2 separate regions of the Homo sapiens genome follow, and region 2 is linked to region 1. Evidence: promoter capture Hi-C in human tissues and cell types (Jung and others, 2019). All regions are on one chromosome and are shown on one strand. The core of a region is centred on a gene start or on the middle of the fragment in contact, and the rest is flanking DNA. Distances in the headings are between cores, read along the strand shown.

The links. Contacts are between HindIII fragments. The study calls those that stand out against the background at their distance.
Region 2: a contact is called between a fragment that was not itself captured here and the fragment with the promoter of SNX22 in region 1, in 1 of the 25 tissues and cell types used here (H1 embryonic stem cells).

What each region holds. Positions count from the first base shown.
Region 1 is chr15:64,150,223-64,153,128 of GRCh38, forward strand. It overlaps SNX22 (sorting nexin 22), which reads left to right and starts at 1,509. Exons shown (of 7, transcript NM_024798.3): 1 at 1,509-1,628; 2 at 2,021-2,104; 3 at 2,416-2,520. The coding sequence starts at 1,554. RefSeq lists an enhancer at 168-277 and silencers at 1,195-1,634, 1,835-2,214. The HindIII fragment of the contact is 9,247 bases long and covers 1-2,906 here.
Region 2 is chr15:63,986,060-63,988,965 of GRCh38, forward strand. All of the region lies in intron 2 of DAPK2 (death associated protein kinase 2), which reads right to left. Among named protein-coding and RNA genes, the nearest start is that of DAPK2, 59 kb to the right of the region's middle. The HindIII fragment of the contact is 6,246 bases long and covers 1-2,906 here.

The DNA.
Region 1 (2,906 bases), core at 259-2,758:
TTGCTCCAGCTCAGAGGCGTCTCTGCAGAAGCAGGGGAGGGGTGAGTCCCCTCAACCCCAGCCCCGAAGACAGGCACTCTGCTTCCTCCTGCCCACCCCAAGACCTCCCACTACGTATGAGCTTTGGAAGGCAGGGCCTCGCCTCTCTGCATGTCACGGGGCCTTTGTGGGGGAAGTCAGTGGAGTAGAGGACCTGCCATGGTGCTGCTGATAGCAGCTCTCCGACAGCTGAAGGGTGCAGGGCTGAGAGGTGGGAGCAGAGGTCCTTTCCAGCACATGGCCTGAGAGAGTTCTGGATCAAAATCCTGCCACATATCCAGGAAGAACCTGCCCGGAGGGGTGGACAAGAGCAACCCGGTGCCACCCCCCAAAGTCTCTCTTCCCATCCACTGCCCTGTGCCCACTTATCCTAGTCATCCAGGAGAAGCCCACAGTCAAGCTGCTGCTCAATGCTTCTGTTAAGGGCCTAACATGAATCATCTCACTTTTTTTTTTTTTTAAGACAGAGTCTTGCTGTTGCCCAGTCTGGAGTGCAATGGTTTGATCTCGGCTCACTGCAACCTCCGCCTCTCAGGTTCAAGTGATTCTCCCGCCTCAGCCTCCTGAGTAGCTGGGATTACAGGCATGTGCCACCACACCTGGTTGATTTTTGTATTTTTAGTAGGTACGGGGTTTCACCATGTTGGTCAGGCTGGTCTCGAACTCCTGACCTCAGGTGATCCGCCTACCTCGGCCTCCCAAAGTGCTGGGATTACAGGCGTGAGCCACCGCGCCCGGCCAAATCATCTCACTTTATACACTTGCCTGAAGGAGCCACGTTATCCCTATTTTGCAGATGAGCAAAGGTCTACGGAGCTCCTGAAATCCAGGCAGTCTGACGTCCAAATCGGAGTCTAGGTCCCTAAACTGCCTCTTCCCCACAAACAGCCTGGAGCCCCTTAGGGTTGGAAGATATGAGTGAATGGATGGATGAAAACAATGAATGAATGGGGGGGCCTGTGGATGCTGGGGAAAGGGGCATCAAAGCTGGACTGGGTCCAAGCCTTGCTCAGGTGTGGCCTCAGCCGGGGAATCCAGATCACAATTTCAGGGACCAGGCTGAAAGGAGGGAAAGGCTCGGGAAGGGACTGAGGAACCCAAGACAGGTCCCTGGTTGGCCCCAGGACCGGCGCTGAGGCCCGGGCCCCGCCTCCGTCCGCGCCTGGAGCCACAGGCCGTCCTTGGTAGGCGCTTAACTCAGGTTGGGTGACATTTTCGCTCGCCAGTTCCTGGCATCAGTGAGTGCTCCGTCAATGTTTGACAAACGGTTGACTCCACTGCCCCGCGCTGTGGGCGCACTAGACTTCGGGGGCGGCGTCCAGGTCCCGCCTAATCTTCTAGGCTCAGGACCCGCGGCGCAAGGGAACGCCCGGGGCGGGGTCGCCTGGGGGCGGGGCCTGGGGTGGGGCCTGCGGACCGAGGGGGCGGAGCCGGCCGCCCCGGGGTCCTCAGTCCGCTCCGGGAGAGTTAGGGCTCCGAGCCGAGCGCGCGGAGCAGCTGGGGCCGGGGCGCGGATGCTGGAAGTTCACATCCCGTCGGTGGGGCCCGAGGCCGAGGGGCCCAGGCAGAGCCCGGAGAAAAGCCACATGGTGAGCGCGGCCCCTGGATGGGGAGGGGCGCCGGGACCCGCAGGATTTCCCCGCGCTGCGCTCAGTGGGGACCCGGGGCCCGGGCCTGGGTGAACGAGCGCTGCGGGCTGGACCGTCGGGGGAAACCTTGTCGAGGGTTTGGGGGCCGCTTGGATTTGCCAGCCTCGCGGACCATGGTTCGAGCTCTTGAGGGACCCCAGGGCTCCGAGGGGCAGGTCCGCCAGCCGGTTCTCCCAGGTGTGCGGGAGCGGAGAGTCCCCGGGCAGCCGCGGCGCCGCAAGGCCGCTTTGTGCCTTTGAGAGCGGGAGGGTGGGCACGTCGCCAGGCGCAGGTGCTGCGGCGTCCTCCCGCGGGGCCTCACGCGCAGACCCGCTGCCCGCCCGCGCCGCCAGGTGTTCCGAGTGGAGGTGCTGTGCAGCGGGCGCAGACACACGGTGCCAAGGCGCTACAGCGAGTTCCACGCGCTGCACAAGCGGGTGAGGCGGCGCCGACCTCCCACCGGCCCCGGCCCAGCCTCTGTCCAGCCCCCGCCCAGGCCCTGTGAGGCGGGCGGGCGAGCCCCAGCCTCCGCCACCCCCATTACTGCCTCAGTCCCTGCGCAGCCGGTCAGCCCCCGGGCCTCTGTGGGTGGGTTGGGGCCTTCCTCGCCCTCGGCCGGTCCACCACTCACCAGGGTCTGTCCCAGTAGAGCCCGAAGGCGGGGGCGCGGGAGGGCTTCTGGCTGGGGCGAAGAGGGCTTGAGGGCTCAGTCGGGATGCTGTGATCGCACGCGGTAAACCTCCAGTAGATCAAGAAGCTGTACAAAGTGCCCGACTTCCCCTCGAAACGCCTGCCCAACTGGAGGACCAGAGGGTTGGAACAGCGCCGGCAGGGCTTGGAGGCTTACATCCAGGTATGCGAGAGCACAGTTGGTTGCCCCCCGGCCTTCTGTGCCAGGGGTGTGGCCCAGACAGAGAGGTGTGGGGGCATGGCAGGGAGGGAACCCACAACTTGGGGATGTTATTCACCACCTCAAGCATCAATTTTCTGAGTCTAATATAGGTCCAAACACCCCCCTCTGGCTTGTTGAAAGGACTGAAAGAGGTAACGGACACAGGTAGTCCCAGCTCCATGAAACCCAGGTCCTGTCCCCTCCATGGTGAGGTCCTGTGCTGCCCTCCTGATGGCATGTAGGGTGAGGGTCCTTCCCCCAACAGCAAAGCTATGCCGCGTCATGGGGTACAACCTGTGCACACAGCGCCCAGCGCCCAGAAGGGCCCTGAGCCTGGTTCAACGCTC
Region 2 (2,906 bases), core at 276-2,775, 160 kb before region 1:
ACAGCCCTCTGCTCAACCTGTAGAGGGGAGCCTCAGAGGGAGCCAAGGCTGCTGGCTGGTGTCCCCCACTCCTTGGGCTGTTTCCAGAAGAGCAGAGAACACCCTCCACCAGACCCAGCCCCCAGGCTTCAAGATCAGACAGGCCTGGCCTCAGAGACTTATGCTTTCACCTGCTCTGAACATAGATTTGCTCATCTGTCAAATGGGAATCAGGGTTCCCTGCTAGAGAATTGTGAAGACTGGAAATATTTGTAATGTTGGCCCGTGGTACTCAAAAGTGGTTCATGTGAAGGCTGAGCAAGAGACATCCAGAGACATAAGTCACTGATTCAAATGGTCTGGAATGTGAAACCAAGGAATTGGTTTAATTTTATTTATTTTTAGAGATGGGGTCTGGCTCTGCTGCCCCGGCTGGAGGGCAGTGGTGTGATCATAACTCACTGCAGCCTCAAACTCCTGGGCTCAAGCAATCCTCCCAACCTCAGCCTCCCGAGTAGCTGGGACCACAGGTGCCTGCCACACCACCCAGCTTCAGTTTAATTTTAAAAGCACCACCCTACCCCGCCAATGATTCCCACGCACAGCCAGATGTGAAAATAGCTCTATTCCGAGCAAGTAGCCAACTCTTTAAATCCTAGAGCAGTGGTTCTCAACCCAGGCCACACATTGATATTGCCTGGGGAATTTTAAAACTCCTAGTGTTTAAGTCTCACCCTGAGAGATTCTGATCTCCTGGGTCTGGGCCTGAAGATGGGGCTATTTAAAAGCCCGCTGGGTAACTGACATGCAGCCAGGGCTGACTTACAACAGCTTTCTGATTATCTCCATTTCACAAATGAAGAAACTATACCACTGTTACTCATACTAGTTCCTCATTTTCAGTATTACACTTCCCCATAGTTCTCTGATCTGATCATTTCAGGAAAGGAGTAAAGAAAGGGAATCAGAGGGGAGGGGTTGTCTCTCCCATCAGCATGATTTTTGCTTGAGGGGTTCACCAGTCTAACTGCTGTGTTATGAATATGCAAATCAAGGCAGAAGATTACTCTAGCTTTCGGAGGATAACAGGAGTGAAAATTTGCAGTCAGGCACTCCCTGGCCACTGTACTCAGCAGATGCACAAAAGCAGAACCTGAGGTGGCTCTAGTATGCCCATCAGAGGGCCCAGCCAACCCAAGGGCAGGTGACAGCAACAGGCCTTTTTCTGCACACAGAAGGCTCTGCAGCCAGAAGTTGAGGTCCCACAGTGCAGAAGTCGCCAGCTAGGCTACAGGGATGATGGGTGGGAGGCGAGGGTCTGTCTACTTTAGGACAGAGCCACCCAGAATGTCATCCAGGGAGGGAGCAGAAGGGAGCAATTCAACCTCTAATGAAAGTCATTGCTAACACTAAATCAAAAATGATGGGAATACTGGAATCTGGTATACATATGCAAAGCACACATATTCCAGTATCTCTGCCCCCCATAGCAACAATCAATACCTATGCATGGTCTACTGCAGCACGGGGCTGGTAGGAGGCCCGATTCCTCGTCCTAATCTGCTATCAAAGTTTCATGGGCTTGACAGGGAGCTGCCTTTTCAGTTCATGTTTCTCCATCTGCCATCCCAGGTCTCATCTTAGAAAGCTTCCTGTCAGACAGCTCCAAAGAGCCTGGGACAACTCTAAACAGGAATGAAGCCCTTTCTCTTCACTCTCCAAATTCCTAACTCTGGGCTGGTGTCAGGAGACTGGGAGTCTAGTCAGAGCCCTACCACTAACGAGCCAGGACCCTGGGCAGCCTGTTCAACTCCCCAGGCCTCAGTTTCCTTCTTTGTCACATGGGGATGATAATACCTGCCCTGCCCACTTCCCAGGGTTGTTTGGGAAATCATGAGGTAATGTCTGAGATAGGACTTTACCATCCAGCCTTGCAGAAGAGCATGAGGTGTGGGTGGGTGGGAACTCTGTGCCTGAGACTGGCTTGCAAAAGTCACGTAGGATGGTTTCGTGAGGGACAGTAAATCCTCAAGATACAGAAAACACCCCGCTTCTGCCAGCACACTCTCCTGCAATTCTGTCAGGAACACACCCCTCTTCCCAGGCAGAGGACTCAGCTCCTCACTCACTCAGCACCTGGGAGGACAAGTGGGCTGTGTCAAGATCAGTGTCACTGGCAGATGGGCCTCATTTCCAAACTTGTCAGGCCCCCAGGTGCCACCTCATAAGGGCTCTCTAGTTGTCTGCCCAGGACTCACATTAAAAGGGGTATACCTAGAACAGCTTCTCAGTGCTCAGAAATGTCCCCAACCTCAGCTCTTAAGGTTCATGGAGGAGCCTGGCTTAATCCCCACCCCCCAAAGTCTTCACTGTCAAGGGTAAATAAACAGGGCATGAACCAAATGTCACACCACGGGATCAATTTTGTATAGCAATGTGAACATTACAACATTTACATCCAGCTTTTCCTTTTTTTTTTTTTTTGAGCTGGAGTCTCGCTCTGTTGCCCAGGATGGAGTACGGTGGCGCAATCTCGGCTCACTGCAAGCTCCACCTCCTGGGTTTAAGTGATTCTCCTGCCTCAGCCTCCTGAGTAGCTTGGATTACAGGCACCGCGACCATGGATGGCTAATTTTTTTCTATTTTTAGTAGAGACGGGATTTCACCATGTTGGCCAGGCTGGTCTTGAACTCCTGACCTCAAGTGATCTGCCTGCCTCAGCCTCCCAAAGTGCTGGGATTACAGGCATGAGCCACCGCGCCCGGCCAGCTTTTTTCTTAATGAGCTAACTTCATATTCATTCTCTTTTTCAATATTTGCAAGTATCATTTTTAGTTCCATTTCACAGATAAGAAAACTGGAGAGGTATGGTGGCTCACACCTGTCATCCCAGTGCTTTGGGAGGCTGAGGCAGGGGGATCACTTGA